Regions from separate parts of the Homo sapiens genome. Here regions 2, 3, 4, 5 and 6 are each linked to region 1. Evidence: promoter capture Hi-C in 16 types of primary human blood cells and fetal thymus (Javierre and others, 2016). All regions are on one chromosome and are shown on one strand. Each heading gives the region's core, a stretch centred on a gene start or on the middle of the fragment in contact. The rest is flanking DNA. Distances are from core to core; before and after follow the strand shown.

Region 1 (2,584 bases), core at 37-2,536:
GGTTCTCACCATCGGAAATTGACTTGGCATTAACTAAGGGCTGGAATTTCAAGGCGTCAATTTTCCCCTGCCCCCAACCTCGGAAACTCTTAAACAGCTCCCTATTCTACACTCAATGGTAGAGACAGATAAATGATGCAGCAGATTACACCGTTGAAAGGCAACATTTGTCCTGAGCTATTTTCACATTTTTTCCTGTTTCCGATGTATGTGCCAGACTTTGTTTGCTTGCTTAGGACATGGAAAACACTGGGCATTTTCTCCCCAGCGGCTTTCATTCTCAGCAAATGAAAGTGAAAGTGCTACATTGTAGCGGTATTTTATCCTTAAAGTCTGGACTGGCAGCTTGTGTGTAGGGGGGAGGGAGGGTGGGATTGGGAAGGTTGAAGAACCAGTTTTGAGGTTTTGTTTGTTTATCTTGAGATCGCAGCAGGGTTCCTGTTTTTTTCCCTTCCTTTTTTTTTTTGGTGGTGGGGTCCTACTTCGGATTTATTTTCATTTGGGCAGTCATTGAAGTTTCATTCAATGGACTGACTTAAAAAAATACACTCCACTTGTGGCTTTTCCCGGTTGCACTTTAAAACACCATCCAGTCTCACCCTCATCTGGAAATAATGCAAGCTTCTCTCTTCCTTCCCCCGCTCCCTCCTCCCCTACTTTTTTTTTTTCTTCTTCTTCTTCTTTTAAAGCTCCACATAACCTGAAGTCGATAATCAAATGGAAAATGTGCTGGTATTAGTTTACTTTAGTTTACTTTCCCTTTTGGTGCTAACCTTACTTGCTGAAGTATGTATAAAACACAGGCATTTTGTACACTTGTAGCTACTGAGTCTTGTGCCTGCTGCACGAATCTAAGCTTTAAGTTTCCTCAGAGGCACTGTTTGCGTGCAAGTTTTAACATTTTGATTGTGTGGATTTTAAAAATAAAATTACACGGAGAATGACACCAGAGATCTTAACAGTGACATTAGTCCATCTAAAGTCATTCATCCTTCTCCCTCCCCCTTCATTTTTCCAAGAAACAACTAATAGCAAACCAGGCTAGAATTTCTAAGAGAGTTTAGAGGAGGAGGAGGAAAAGAGGCGGAATGAGATAGGACAGAGAGGTTAGAGAGGCCAGAATTTCTCTCATTCACAGTGTGGAAAAGTTGACATTGTCTAAGCCCTTCTGAATGGCTGGTAGTTGGTTACCCCGATTGTACCTCTACCTCCCCTCCCCCTCCACGTGACGACCCAGGACACATGCGCACCCGACGCAGCCCAGGCACATCTGCAGACTGACGTCAGTGTGCTCTGCCTCCGAGGAAAAGCTGCCAAAATTTTCTCCTGCTGCAATTCAAGTTGGCTGGGGGCCGGTAGTGAGATCTAGGGCTACTTCAACAAAACTTTGCTGCCCTTCCTGCTCCTCTTGTCTTCTTTTCTCCTGATACCTTTTGATGCTCTGCACATGTTATTTGCATAGCAAAGGCACTAAGCTTTCCAGGAAGAGAGGGCACCACTTCCACCCCCAATAAGTCTTTTTTCCCGTCTTTTCTTTCTTTTCCTTTCCTTTTTTGGGGGGTGGGGAGGGAGAGAAAGGGGGTTTGCAAAGGCAGCATCTCAGAGTGATAGCCTAGATGTATTGAAGGCATCTCTTATTCTGCCAAATCGGAAAGTCAGTTCTCTAAAGCCCGGGTTAGCCAGACCATAGGGTTTTATTCTGGCTGCAGAATAACTGGCTGGTGTGGCTTTGCAAAGGGGGGCAAAAAATAAAAAAATAAAAAAAATTAAAAAAAGTTAGAGAGGAGAGGGAGTACGTGAGTCGTCCAGTGCAATCTCTATTGTCTGAAACTTACTTTTTATCAGAATTTGAAGATGAAAACGGTAAGGAAGACTTAACAATATTCAATGGAGCTTTTTTTTTTTAAACCAACAACTTGTGCTTTGCTTGTCTTCCGAATAACGCTTAGAAAACTTTTTTTCTGTGTGTGTGTTTTTTTTTTTTTTTTTAATGGCAATGAGTGAGCTTGACTGAACTCATTTTACAAATAGATATCTTTTTAACTCCAGACTTGTCGGGGGTTGTAGAATTCTGGGACTTGCAGTTATTTTATGATGCAAAAAAAATACGTTTATTTTATGAATATACAATACATGTTTTGTGAAGTGGACTTGATTATGATTATTGTAATCTTTTAACTGATCACCAAATAGTAATCCGGAAGGTAATAATGATGTGTGTGTTTTAAATTGATTTCCAGTTTTCTTACAGAAAAGTCTTATGCATTTTGTAGTTTCATGTCAGTGTCGTTAAGTCTTCAGACAAGTGCATATTTTATGCCTGGGCTCAGAGGGTAGCATTAATGTGCTAGCTGTAGCCCCGATGCTCTAGGACATGTTAAGCTCTTAATAGGCTAATCAAAGAGATGGAAACGTGTGTTTTTGATTTACTTTTGGCCACTTGGGACGTGCTAGACTCATAACCCTCCGGAGCCTTGTTTATCGGGGTAGGTCTGTATATATGGTGTATGGGACCAAAGTTCAGGGATTGAGGAGGGAGAGTGAGAGTGCAGGAATGGGGTATTGGGAAGCCTCTTTCTGATAA
Region 2 (2,584 bases), core at 41-2,540, 600 kb after region 1:
ATCTTCTCTCTTTTACAATTTCAAACACTCCCACCTCACTGATCCTTTTATTCAGCAAACAAAAATGCTCAAATTTCTCTGGACTTGGCTCAAATCAAGTGATTATTATCTTCACAAATGGACTCCATTCTTGAAAGAATAGTTTACCTATACAGTCTGCTTTATTAACCTCTAACTTCTTAATCTCTTGCAATCTATCCCTCTTACAGTCTACTGAAACTGCTTCTATATCAACCAAATTCAATGGCCTTTTCTCATTTCTCCTCTTCCTTTTTGGCCTCTATCATTCAATGATGTTAATTATTCCTTCCTTCTCCTTTCTTCTTAGAATTCTATCCCAGTCAGGCTTATATACCATTTTAGCATTTTGAATCTCCAATTCTTCTCCTGGTTACTCTTTTTCTTCCCATATTATAATTGTTGACATTTTTCTCATCTCTATACTTTGTACACTGGCATTTTAATCTAATCTCATAACATCAACTATCACTCCTATATAGGTTATTTCCAAATGTAGATGTTTTGCCTTAATGGTCCTGCATTTGTACCTATCTTCTACAAATTTCTGCGTAGATTAACTCAGAAATTTAATACTGATATGGTATGGCTGTATCCCCACCCAAATCTCATTTTGAATTGTAGTTCCCATAATCCCCATGTGTTGTGGGAGGGACCTCATGGAAAGTGATTGGATCATGGTGGCAGTTTCTCCCATGCTATTCTCATGATAGTGAGTGAGTTCTCATGAGATCTGATGGTTTTATAAGCATTTGGTATTTCCACTGCTGGCACTCATTCTCTCTCCTGTCACCCTGTGAAGAGATGTCTTCCACCATGATTGTAAGTTTCCTGAGGCCTCCCCAGTCATGCAGAACTGTGAGTCAATTAAACCTCTTTTCTTTATAAATTACCCCAGTCTTGGGTATGTCTTTATTAGCAGCATGAGAACAGACTAATACACATACAATTTTAAGTTTCCTAGTAGACAGATTTAAAAACTAAAAGGAGCCGGGTGTGGTGGCTCACGCCTGTAATCCCAGCACTTTGGGAGGCCAAGGCAGGTGGATCACGAGGTCAGGAGATCGAGACCATCCTGGCTAACATGGTGAAACTCCGTCTCTACTAAAAAAAATACAAAACATTGGCCAGGCGGGGTGGCGGGCACCTGTACTCCCAGCTATTCGGGAGGCTGAGGCAGGAAAATGGTGCAAACCCGAGAGGCGGAGCCTGCAGTGAGCCAAGATCGCACCACTGCACTCCAGCCTGGGCGACAGAGCGAGACTCCGTCTCAAAACAACAACAACAACAACAACAACTAAAAGGAAACATTAATTTTTACATACTTAATATATCCAAAATATTACCAATTTAACATAAAACCAATATAGAGAATATTAATGTGATATTCAACACTCTCTTTTGTACTAAGTCTTCAAAATACAGTGTGCATTTTACACTTATAGCAAATCTCAATTGAGACTAGCCTCATTTCAAGGACTCAACTCTAGAGAAACAGCAGGCTGGACATCTCAACATAATTACAAATTCTTTATGTCCAAACCTGAAATCGTCTCCTTCTTGCCCAAATTTGTTCCTTCTCCTGAAGTCTCTATTTGATCATGGAACCATAATCTTTTGAATGACCAGACTTTAAATTTCCCTTGGACTCTTCTCCCTTTCCTTTCATTGAATCAGTGTTGAAGTACATCATTTTCTAATCTCTCTCACATATAACAGCTCCTCTTGACTTTAACCATCAATGCCTAGTTTAGGCTGTCATTATGTGTTCTCAGGTAAGTACAATTATTTCCTATTTCTTAAAGCTATATGAACACAACTGTAGATATCCCATATTTACTTGGCATGACATAAAAATGGAACTGGGTAGCCGCTGCACAGGGAACAGCAAACACATCTTCCATTTACTCCATCAAACATTCCTATCTTTTTATTATGCTACTTTGTATAGCTTTCAATTTGGTAAGTAATTCAGTCATTTAGATGATGTTTTCCGAACACTAAGGTCTTTGAGGTAGAGATTATTTTGAGAGTTGAAGAGGAAATGGTGCATTTCTAGGGTAGACAAACTAGTTATGAGAATAATTTGAAGTACACAAAGAATGAGGCAAAGAAAGTATAGACTGTTTACGATACTATTGTAGAGGGAGTAGAACATAGCTATTATAAGACTTAACTTTGGATTCAGAAAGTATTGATTTAAAAGCCAACTCTATCACTTATTAGCCAGGTGACCTGAGAATAGTTACTTAACTTCTCTGAGACTCAGTTTATTCAACTATAAATTAGGGGTAAGTTATGTAAAATATTGAGCACACAAGACATGTTCAACAAACAGTAGCTATTATGATTTAGGTCCTCTATTTAAAATAGCACCACTGTTAAGAGCTGTCTGTCATATGGGCATAGTTCTTTATTATTTATTATAAATGAATGTTATTTCTACTATATACAGCAAACAACTCTGTTCATCATTTTAAGAGGGCAATGAATGCACAATGCTTGCTTCTAAAAATCTATCCTTAAATAGTCAAAGATTTAGACACACTATATTAATGTAGTCATA
Region 3 (2,584 bases), core at 59-2,558, 580 kb after region 1:
CCTGCCACCACACCCGGCTAATTTTTTGTATTTTTAGTAGAGACGGGGTTTCACTGTGTTAGCCAGGATGGTCTCCATCTCTTTTATACCGTATTTTTACTGTACCTTTTCTATGTTTAGATATGTTTAAATACACAAATACTTACCTGTGTATTACAATCGCCTGCAATGTTCAGTACAGTAATATGCTATACAGGATTATAGCCTAGGAACAATAGCCTATACCAGGGGTATCCAATCTTTTGGCTTCCCTGGGTCACGCTGGAAGAATTGTCTTGGGCCATACATAAAATATGCTAACACTAATGATAGCTGATGAGCTAAAAAAAAAAAATCACAAAAAAGTCTCATAATGTTTTAAGAAGGTTTATGAATTTGTGTTGGGGCACATTCAGAGCTGTCCTGGGCCACATGTGGCCCACTGGCCACAGATTGGACAAGCTTGGGCCACACCATATAGCCTAGGTGTATAGTAAACTATACTATCTAGTTTTGAGTAAGCTTTGTGTAAGAACACTCACATGGTGTTTACACAACGATAAAATCACCTAGCAACACATTTCGCAGACTGTATCCCCATTGTTAAGGGATATGTGACTGTATATATAAACATTAAGTCAAAGTGAATCAAATCTTAATGTAAAATCTTAAAACTACAAAATTTCTAAAAAAAAAACACATAGAAGATCTTTTTGAGTTTGAGTCAGGCAAAGATTTCTTAGAACCAATAACTAGATTCAAAAATGAACAAAGTTAATAAGTTAGACTTTCCCAAAATTTAAGTTTTGTTTTTTGAAAGACACCATTAAGAGGACAAAAAATATAAGCCACCGTTTGAGAGAAATATTTACAAATCATATATCTGATAAAGGATTTGTATCCAAAGAATATAAAGAAGTCTAAAAATTCAATAGTAAATAACAAACAACACAATAAAAAATGGATAAAAAGAGTTGAATATATACTGCACCAAAGAATATATACGGATGACAAATAAGCACATGAAACAATGCTCAACATCATTATTAATTAAATGTAAATCAAAACCACAAAGTAACACTGCAAACTATTAGAATGGCTAAAATTAGAAAGTGACCACACGAAGTGTTAACAAGGATATGGAGTTAACAGGATAGTTTATGCACTACTTGTAGGATGTACAATGGCACAACCAGTTTGGAAAACAGTTTGGCAGTTTTCAAAAAGTTGAACATACACCTATCACATGACTTAGCCATTCCACTTCCAGACATTTGCTCAAGCAAAATAATAGCATATGGTTATAAAATACTTGTGGTATATCTATATAATGGAATACTACTTAGCAATAAAAGGAACAAACTACTGATATATACAACATGGATAAATCTGAAAATGCATATGTTGATTGAAAGAAGTCAGACAAAAAAGTACATAGAGAATATGATTTCATTTAAATAAGATTTAGAAAATACAACTATTTTATAGTGATAGAAGACTTTAGTGGTTGCCAGGGGATCAGAGAGGGGGTTAACAAGGGGCATGAGAACATGTTGGGCCTTGAAGGACATGTTCATTATCTAGATTGTGGTGATGTTTTCACAGGTATAGACATACGTCAAAACATGTCAAACAGTTCACTTTAAATTATTCTTCAATAAAGCTATTACAAATGTTTTCGTTTCTGTTCAAAAGTTTTGTTTGTGGATTCTGTCTTTTGACTGGGCCCTTTCTGGTACATACCACCAAATTACATTGTCCTGTTTCATAATATGTTCATAGCTCTTATCTGAAACTTTGCCCATTATTTAAATGTGCATCTGTGCTCTTCGTGTTGTCATAGATTCATACTCAAAAAATTGTCTTTTTCATTGTTATTCTTTTTTTCCTTAGTTTACAAATAATGTGATTATTCACTTAAGCAAAAGCCAGTTTCATTCATTACTTCAGCAAATGTTTGTTGAATGCTTATTATTTTGCCCATTACTATGCAAAGTATTAGGCATATAGAGATGAATCTATGGCTCCTGCTCTGCCAGGCACCTTTCCAACTACTGTTATACTTATTGCCCTTCATTTTGCAGTGGAATTTTATTCATCTCTCAAAACATAGCTCAGATACTTGGTCAAGCTTTTCCTGACCCAATGGACTACCGCCTATTTGGTTCTTCCTAGGATTTTGTTCATATTATATAACAGAATCTAGTAATTTTCTCCCTGAATTCAGTCATCCCTTTTACCTTTTAGTAAAGGAATCAACCCCATATATCTCCCATCCTTGATATTTAGTTAGCCAGCCACTTGGACACTCAACTGGAGACTTTATTTCTCAGCCTTTTTTACAGCTAGGTATGGCCATGTGATTTCAGTATAATATGATAAGAGTGAAAGTGCTTTTGTGCAACTTTTGGGTCATCTCCTCAAAGATGAAGTCACCAGTCTGGTACTTGCTCTTTCCTCTTCCCCGTTGCTGGAATATAGGCATGGAGGTGGGTCGGGTTGAATCATGCAGACAATGATAACACCTCAGAAGATGCCAAAAAGACAAAAATGAAAAAAACTTGGGTCCTTAAATACCTGCTGGTCCTGAAGTGCTCACCCTGAA
Region 4 (2,584 bases), core at 29-2,528, 560 kb after region 1:
AGGCTACCTATAGGGTACTATGCTCACTACCTTGGGATGGGATCATGTGTACACCAAGCCTCAATGACACCCAATTTACCCATGTAACAAACCTGCACTTGCACCCTCTGAACCTAAAATAAAAGTAGAAAAGAAAAAAATTTCAGTAATACACAAGTACAAAGTTAAGAAGTAAACACTATGTCTAATACTAAAAGAAACTGCTTTAGATTTCTAATTTTTCTCTGGCCAGTATTTATGGTGACAAATTTACTGGGCCCAAATGACAAAACGAAGCAACAAAATTATTTATTAATTTTATATAGGCAGCATATACGTGTGTACACATACATATAGAAACACAAAGAAAGCATTTATATCTTTAGAGATTATAATGTTTTAAATTGTACAGCAAAAATATATGGAAATCACATAATAAAAAATGACTTGTATTTATGCCCTGCATTTCTCCATGGAACTTAAAATTATTTAACAGACATTATCTCATTGTTTTAAGAACTGCTATGAAACAACATGACATTTATATAACACCATTCATTTTCAATAATCTTGAAGGGTTTTATAAACTCCGGAAGAATGGCTTTGCTCATGTTCAATGTGGAATCACTGAGGGATGGACGTGGAGGTGGGTGGGTAGAGAATTGGACAGGACTCTGGTAGATGTTCCATAGAACATAGCAGTAACATACAACCATTTAAGAAAGTGAGAGATACTATTATATTAAACAGAAAAAATGAAGAAAAAAGAGCAGAGAAGATCCAAGCTAAGATTGCATTACATTTGTTAAAACTGAGAAAAACAGTAAAGACCAACTGGTCTTATTTTAATTTTTGTATCTTAGAATAATATAGATACTTTCTAGATTAAAAAGAATTTAAGCATCATCTGCTAAATTAAGAACTCCATTTTCTTTTTTTCCCTTTTTGAATATATATACAACAGTTGTATATATTTTGGTGTACAACATCATGTTTTGAAATATATATTGGATGGCTGAATCAAGCTAATTAACACATACATTACCTCACATACCTGACACAGTTTTTTTTTATTTGTGGCAAGAATACTTAAAACCTACTCTCAGCAATATTCGAGGATATAATACATTGTTATTAACCATAGTCACCATTTTGTATAATAGAGCTCTTCAACTTACTCCTCTCTAACTGAAATTTTGAATCCTTTGACCACATCTTCCCAATCTGCCTTCCTGCCTAGCCCTTGGTAACCACAATTCTACTCTCTGAAGAACTCCATTTCCTACAGTGCTTTTTGTATGGGTAGTGGTCTATACTCCAACCATCAATAACATCTTGGATCTAAATTATTATTGATTTAATATATTTTTGGGGGGTGTCTATATTTTTTGAAGACACTTCCTCTCTTTCCTTCCCTGTTTGGACTGAAACTCAGATGCTAAAAAACAAATATTCACCTGAAAAATTTTTTTTTCAAGTTTTGTTTTGTTTTGAATTTATCGGGTATATTAATCAGGATTCTCCAGATATACAACCAATGTGTGTGTGTGTGTATGTTTGTGTGTGTGTGTGTATGTATCTCTCTCTATATATAAAAGAGGTTAATGGAGCCCGAGAAGTTTCAAGGTCTGCAGTCAGCAAGCTGGAGACCAGGAGCGCCAGTGATGTAGTTCCAGTTTGAGTTCAAAGGCCTGAGACCCAGGAGAGCTGATAGTGTAAGTTCCAGTCTGAAAGCCAGCAGGCTTCAGACCCAACAAGAGTCAATATTTTGGTTGAGTCTGAGAAGGAAGAAACAAATGTCCCAGTTCAAAGAAGATAGGCAGATGGAGTTCCTCCTTATTTGCAGGAGGATCAGCCTTTTTGTTCTATTCAGGCCCTCAATTGATTGGATGAGGGCCACCCACATTAGGAAGGGTAATCTGCTCTACTCAGTCTACCAATTCAAATGCCAATTTTATCACCAAACACCTTCACAGACACACAGAGAATAATGTCTTACCAAATACCTGGGCACCCCATCGCCCAGTGAAGCTGACATATAGAATTAACCAACACATCAGACAAAAGGGCCTCTGTTCCTTCCTTGGAAAAACTAACATAATTCAATTTTCCTGAAGCAGTTGAGAGCAATGGAATAATATATAAAAAGAAGATACTGCCAGATTCCCTACTTGGACAAGGAAATATGCCAACTAATGCCAGAGGCTCTAGTGCCTCACTTTGTCTCCACTAGTCACAATATGTATGCAGAGGCCTACCGAAGATGGATGGCACCTTGGATAAGAACACGTGTAGAAGTAGTGAAAATGCAGGGGAAGAGCTGGACATCACAAAATACTGCAAAATTAATCTCCCAGCCCATCATATAGTTATTAGAGAACACAGTCAGTTTTGTAGAGGAATGAGAACACAAGCCTTATAGGTACATGGGGACTTTGACTATCTCTTTAGCCAGCTCAGGGTAAAAAGGGTGACAACATCCCTATTAATCCTTCAAAAATACCACCTGAGGTCCTGAACCCAAAGATCACCTTGCAACAAAGAGCTACTAGTCAGTACAAGTCGTCTACTACCACTGCTACTACTACTACTACTACTACTACTA
Region 5 (2,584 bases), core at 51-2,550, 550 kb after region 1:
ACAGAAAAAGAAAATTTCAGGCCAATATCCCTGATGAACATTGATGTGAAAATCCTCAATAAGATACTGGCAAACCAAATCCAGCAGCACATCAAAAAGCTTATCCACCACGATCAAGTCAGCTAAATCCCTGGGATGCATGGCTGGTTCAACATAGGCGAATCAATAAACGTAATCCATCACATAAACAGAACCAATGACAAAAACCACATGATTATCTCAATAGATGCAGAAAAGGCCTTCGATAAAATTCAATAGCCCTTCATGCTAAAAACTCTCAGTAGACTAGGTATTGATGGAACGTATCTCAAAATAATAACAGCTACTTACAACAAACACACAGCTAATATCATACTGACTGGGCAAAAGCTGGAAGCATTCCCTTTGAAAACCAGCACAAGACAAGGATGCCCTCTCTCATCATTCCTATTCAACATAATATTGGAAGTTCTGGCCAGGGCAATCAGGCAAGAGAAATAAATAAAGGGTATTCAAATAGGAAGAGAGGAAGTCAAATTGTCCCTGTTTGTAGATGACATGATTGTATATTTAGAAAACCACATCATCTCAGCCCAAAATCTCCTTAAGCTGATAAGCAACTTCAGGAAAGTCTCAGGATACAAAATAAATGTGCAAAAATCACAAGTATTACTATACATCAATAATAGACAAACAGAGAGCCAAATCATGAGTGAACTCCCATTCACAATTGCTACAAAGAGAATAAAATACCTAGGAATACAACTCACAAGGGATGTGAAGGACCTCTTGAAGGAGGACTATAAGCCACTGCTCAAGGAAGTAAGAGAGGACACAAACGCAAAAACATTCCATGCTCATGGATAGGAAGAATCAGTATCATGAAAATGGCCATACTGCCCAAAGTAATTTATAGATTCAATGCTATCCCCATCAAGCTACCATTGATTTGCTTCACAGAAATAGAAAAAACTACCTTAAATTTCATATGGGACCAAAGAAGAGGCTGTATAGCCAAGACAATCCTAAGCAAAAAGAACAAAGCTGGAGCCATCATGCTACCTGACTTCAAACTATACTACAAGGCTACAGTAACCAACACAGCATGGTACTGGTACCAAAACAGACATACAGACCAATGGAATAGGACAGAGGCCTCAGAAATAATGTCACACATCTACAACCATCTGATTTTTGATAAACCTGATGAAAACAAGCAATGGGGAAAGGATTCCCTATTTAATAAATGGTGTTGGGAAAACTGGCTAGCCATAAGCAGGAAACTGAAACTGGACCCCTTCCTTACATCTTACACAAGAATTAACTCAAGATGGATTAAAGACTTAAACGTAAAACCTAGGACCATAAAACCCTAGAAGAAAACCTAGGCATTACCATTCAGGACATAGGCATGGGCAAAGACTTCATGACTAAAACATGAAAAGCAATGGCAACGAAAGCCAAAATTGACAAATCAGATCTAATTAAACTAAAGAGCTTCTGCACAGCAAAAGAAACTACCATCAGAGTGAACAGGCAACCTACAGAATGGGAGAGAATTTTTGCAATCTATCCATTTGACAATGGGCTAATATCCAGAATCTACAAGGAACTTAAATAAATCTACAAGAAAAAACCAAATGACCTCATCAAAAAGTGGGAAAAGGATATGAACAGATACTTCTCAAAAGAAGACATTTATGCAGACAACAAACATATGAAAAAAAGCTCATCATCACTGGTCATTAGAGAAATGCAAATCAAAACCACAGTGAGACACTATCTCACGCCAGTTAGAATGGTGATGATTAAAAAGTCAGGAAACAACAGATGCTGGAGAGGATGTGGAGAATTACGAATGCTTTTACACTGTTGGTGGGAGTGTAGATTAGTTCAACCATTGTGGAAGACAGTGTGGTGATTCCTGAAGGATCTAGAACCAGAAATACCATTTGACCCAGCAATCCCATTACTGGGTATATACCCAACAGATTATAAATCATTCTACTATAAAGACATATGCACACCTATGTTTACTGCAGCACTATTCACAATAGCAAAGACTTGGAACCAACCCAAACGCTCATCAATGATAGACTGGATAAAGAAAATGTGGCACATATACACCATGGAATACTATGCAGCCATAGAAAAGGATGAACTCATGTCCTTTGCAGGGACATGGATGAAGCTGGAAACCATAATTCTCAGCAAACTAACACAGGAACAGAAAACCAAACACCACATGTTCTCACTCATAAGTGGGAGTTGAACAATGAGAACACATGGACACAGGGAAGGGAACATCACACACCAGGGTCTGTTGGGAAGTGGGGTTCTAGGGGAGAAATAGCATTAGGAGAAATGCCTAATGTAGACGATGGGTTGATAGGTGCAGCAAACGATGGTGGCACATGTATACCTATGTAACAAACCTGCACGTTCTGCACATGTATCCCAGAACTTAAAGTATAATACAAACAAAACAAAACAAAACAAAAAAACTAAGGGTGAAAGCTTGATAAGGAATGATATATTTACATAATCTCAAAACATCTCTCTATAACTATACTTTCTGCATTATCTTGGATTGAATCCTGGAATG
Region 6 (2,584 bases), core at 22-2,521, 530 kb after region 1:
AGAGCACACTTTGTGCTTCTGCAGATGGTGTGATCCGCAATTCTTGTAGCTCGATGGCCATTTTGAAAACATTTCCATGTTGCCCTGCCATTCTGGATGTGGAAACTACAAATTATGTACCCCGTGTTGTAGCAGTAAGAAAAAAAAAATTCTTCAAGATAAAAAGAATTTATGAAGCCAATGAGAAAGGAGACTCAAGAAGTACTACCTAAAATTGCCCAAGGCGAATTAAGCATTGCAGAATATCTGTGTTTCTAACAGTACTTAAAGGAGGGTTCTATTGTTTTGTAACATAAGGTAATTTTCTCCAAGTAGTTATAAGAATTTACAAATCTGTTCAAAACAGTCCTTAAAATACTTGCATGTGTGGTATTGCAGAGTATTCTTTAGATTTCCTATGTGATTGAGGAAACTGAAGCAATAAAGTAGCTTCTAAAATATAAGTATGACCACTTCTGCCAGCACCATCACCATTTTTTTAGGATCTAGCATGTCTAAGACACAATGTTAAGATACTGTGCATGCTTTATTACTTAATTCTGTAACAACAGAAGGGGTATTATTATCCCTATTTCATGCATGAGGAAACAGAGGTTTAGATAGGTTATCTCTTACCCCAGTTTATATGGCTAATAAATGATGAAGCAAGGATTTGAATCCAAGGCTGTCAGACTTCAAAGCTCATCCTTTTTCTACTCTATTTAGTGCAAACAGTTATGGTGGTAGGTGGTACTATTATGCGTAGGAGTGAGGGAAACCAATGACAGTTTTCCAGGTTAGGAGCTTATATACTGGACAAAGGGTAAGACATACACTATTACTGTGTAGTGGTACAAATAACATGAGAGGTTCTGATATTTAGGAAATTCATGCAGAGAAGGGAGAGGGAAAGCTGGGTAGAGGAAGTGGCAGCATAAGTGGGCATTAAAGGAGAAATAAGATTTGGCAATAGCAGGTAAACGAGAAATAATAACCAAGACATAACAACCAAAGGAAATACAGGGCAGGATGCACAGGAGGCAGAGAAAAATTATTCTTTGAAAATGAAGAATGTATAAATAAGATGGGGAATAAAGAAAATAAGACAAAACTCTGATCATGAAAGTCTCTGAATGCCAAATAAAGAAATTTGAACTTTATTTTGGTAAGCAATGAGCAGCCACATTTTATATCTTGTTGGTCCTATACTGCCAAAAATAATTCATAGGTGTTTGTGAGCCTCTTATAAAAATTTTTATTTCTAATATTCCTATACCTAATTATTGATTATTTGTGAGCCTTTTATAAAGTTAAATGTGTTGAACCATTCTAGATTGTTATGTTGTTTGGACTCGTGTCTAAGAATTTTTTAAGGGTTATTTTCTATCATAGTACTAGCTTTAGTTAGTTGATAAAATGGCAGTAAAATTTCAAGTTTCCTGATGCCCACACACCTCTTATCAGTGAACAAAGCATTCCTTAGTAGTTTAGTGACTGCAAGTGCAAAGGTGAGACAGGGAGAGAGAGGGACTGACTCCCCAAGATCTTGGGATTTTTTTTCCTAATAATTTTAATAAGGAACTTTGGAAAATATCCTGGTAAAATTATTTTTCTGTATCTATGAGAATATTTTAATTGAAATATGAAAATATGTACAACTATTTGAAAGCACCATATCCAGTTGTTTCTGACTGTGTTTCACTCTTGACTTTTTTTTTCATTTTTATTTTTTACCTGCCTAGACCAACCAGACCAGATTAATGTCAGATTAATGACATCTCTGACAAATTAAGTTTTGAGATGGAGTGAAGGTAGGGGAAAAGCTCATCCAACTATGCTCCATTTGAAGTCTACTTGTGTCCAAATGGGCTTTCTGGAACCTGAGGTCGGATGGTGAGTTGAATGGGGGTCGCCCTGCTCAATTTTAGTGGTAATGCTGTGAATTGTAGGCTAGCAATCAGACTGCTGATTCTGGCATACAGCTAACAGGTCATATTGCTTGTGGCTTGTTTTATTTTTTGAGGAAACAGCACTTTGCAGTTTTACAGTGGAAAAAATATTGGATAAAATCTCAAATCTACCATTTAAGTTAGGGTGAGTACTAAATATCTTTAATACTTTGGTTTCTTCATTTGCAAAGTAGAAACTATAATATTTGTTTAATCTACTTCTCAGGACTGTTACAGAACTAAATGTAATGAAGCATGTGACATGACTTTGTAAAGTGTTGATGTTATATAAATGAGGTATTATTATTATTTGGCAGTGAATACAAGGCACTATATTTTATGTCTGTAAGGTACTTTATAGTTATGACTGCCTTCAGCTGATTAAGTATCATTTGAAGAAGCAGGGAGTAGATATCATATTTTTCATTTTATTAACATAGATTGTTTGAATAAGAAATATTTCTCTATATTAAATCCTATTTCCAAAGTACCAATAAAACTCATAATTGAGAGAAACATAGAAAATTATTTTGTGAATTATCAAAACTTAGTTTATATTTTCTATAAATTTGGATGTTCAAATGTAGCACTGCTTATCATGGGGCTTACCTATAATTCTGAATTTGATTAAAGAATAAACAGTATTTGTTGGCCTA

The links. The method cuts DNA at HindIII sites, captures the fragments that hold promoters and counts their contacts. A CHiCAGO score of 5 or more calls a contact.
Region 2: a contact is called between a fragment that was not itself captured here and the fragment with the promoter of ADAMTS6 in region 1, in 6 of 17 cell types (M0 macrophages, M1 macrophages, erythroblasts and 3 more). The highest score is 7.1, in M0 macrophages.
Region 3: a contact is called between a fragment that was not itself captured here and the fragment with the promoter of ADAMTS6 in region 1, in 7 of 17 cell types (M1 macrophages, M0 macrophages, total B cells and 4 more). The highest score is 11.8, in M1 macrophages.
Region 4: a contact is called between a fragment that was not itself captured here and the fragment with the promoter of ADAMTS6 in region 1, in 7 of 17 cell types (M0 macrophages, M1 macrophages, megakaryocytes and 4 more). The highest score is 12.3, in M0 macrophages.
Region 5: a contact is called between a fragment that was not itself captured here and the fragment with the promoter of ADAMTS6 in region 1, in 2 of 17 cell types (M1 macrophages and M0 macrophages). The highest score is 8.4, in M1 macrophages.
Region 6: a contact is called between a fragment that was not itself captured here and the fragment with the promoter of ADAMTS6 in region 1, in 16 of 17 cell types (M0 macrophages, naive CD4 T cells, naive CD8 T cells and 13 more). The highest score is 35.0, in M0 macrophages.

What each region holds. Positions count from the first base shown.
Region 1 is chr5:65,480,622-65,483,205 of GRCh38, reverse strand. It overlaps ADAMTS6 (ADAM metallopeptidase with thrombospondin type 1 motif 6), which reads left to right and starts at 1,286. Exons shown (of 25, transcript NM_197941.4): 1 at 1,286-1,863. RefSeq lists enhancers at 1,084-1,133, 907-1,406, 1,174-1,533. The HindIII fragment of the contact is 619 bases long and covers 859-1,477 here.
Region 2 is chr5:64,881,318-64,883,901 of GRCh38, reverse strand. All of the region lies in intron 10 of CWC27 (CWC27 spliceosome associated cyclophilin), which reads right to left. Among named protein-coding and RNA genes, the nearest start is that of CWC27, 110 kb to the right of the region's middle. The HindIII fragment of the contact is 3,274 bases long and covers 1-2,584 here.
Region 3 is chr5:64,898,749-64,901,332 of GRCh38, reverse strand. All of the region lies in intron 11 of CWC27 (CWC27 spliceosome associated cyclophilin), which reads right to left. Among named protein-coding and RNA genes, the nearest start is that of CWC27, 130 kb to the right of the region's middle. The HindIII fragment of the contact is 1,609 bases long and covers 504-2,112 here.
Region 4 is chr5:64,916,904-64,919,487 of GRCh38, reverse strand. The region is part of intron 11 of CWC27 (CWC27 spliceosome associated cyclophilin); the gene reads right to left. Among named protein-coding and RNA genes, the nearest start is that of CWC27, 150 kb to the right of the region's middle. The HindIII fragment of the contact is 4,883 bases long and covers 1-2,584 here.
Region 5 is chr5:64,933,987-64,936,570 of GRCh38, reverse strand. All of the region lies in intron 11 of CWC27 (CWC27 spliceosome associated cyclophilin), which reads right to left. Among named protein-coding and RNA genes, the nearest start is that of CWC27, 170 kb to the right of the region's middle. The HindIII fragment of the contact is 2,397 bases long and covers 102-2,498 here.
Region 6 is chr5:64,954,848-64,957,431 of GRCh38, reverse strand. All of the region lies in intron 11 of CWC27 (CWC27 spliceosome associated cyclophilin), which reads right to left. Among named protein-coding and RNA genes, the nearest start is that of CWC27, 190 kb to the right of the region's middle. The HindIII fragment of the contact is 6,761 bases long and covers 1-2,584 here.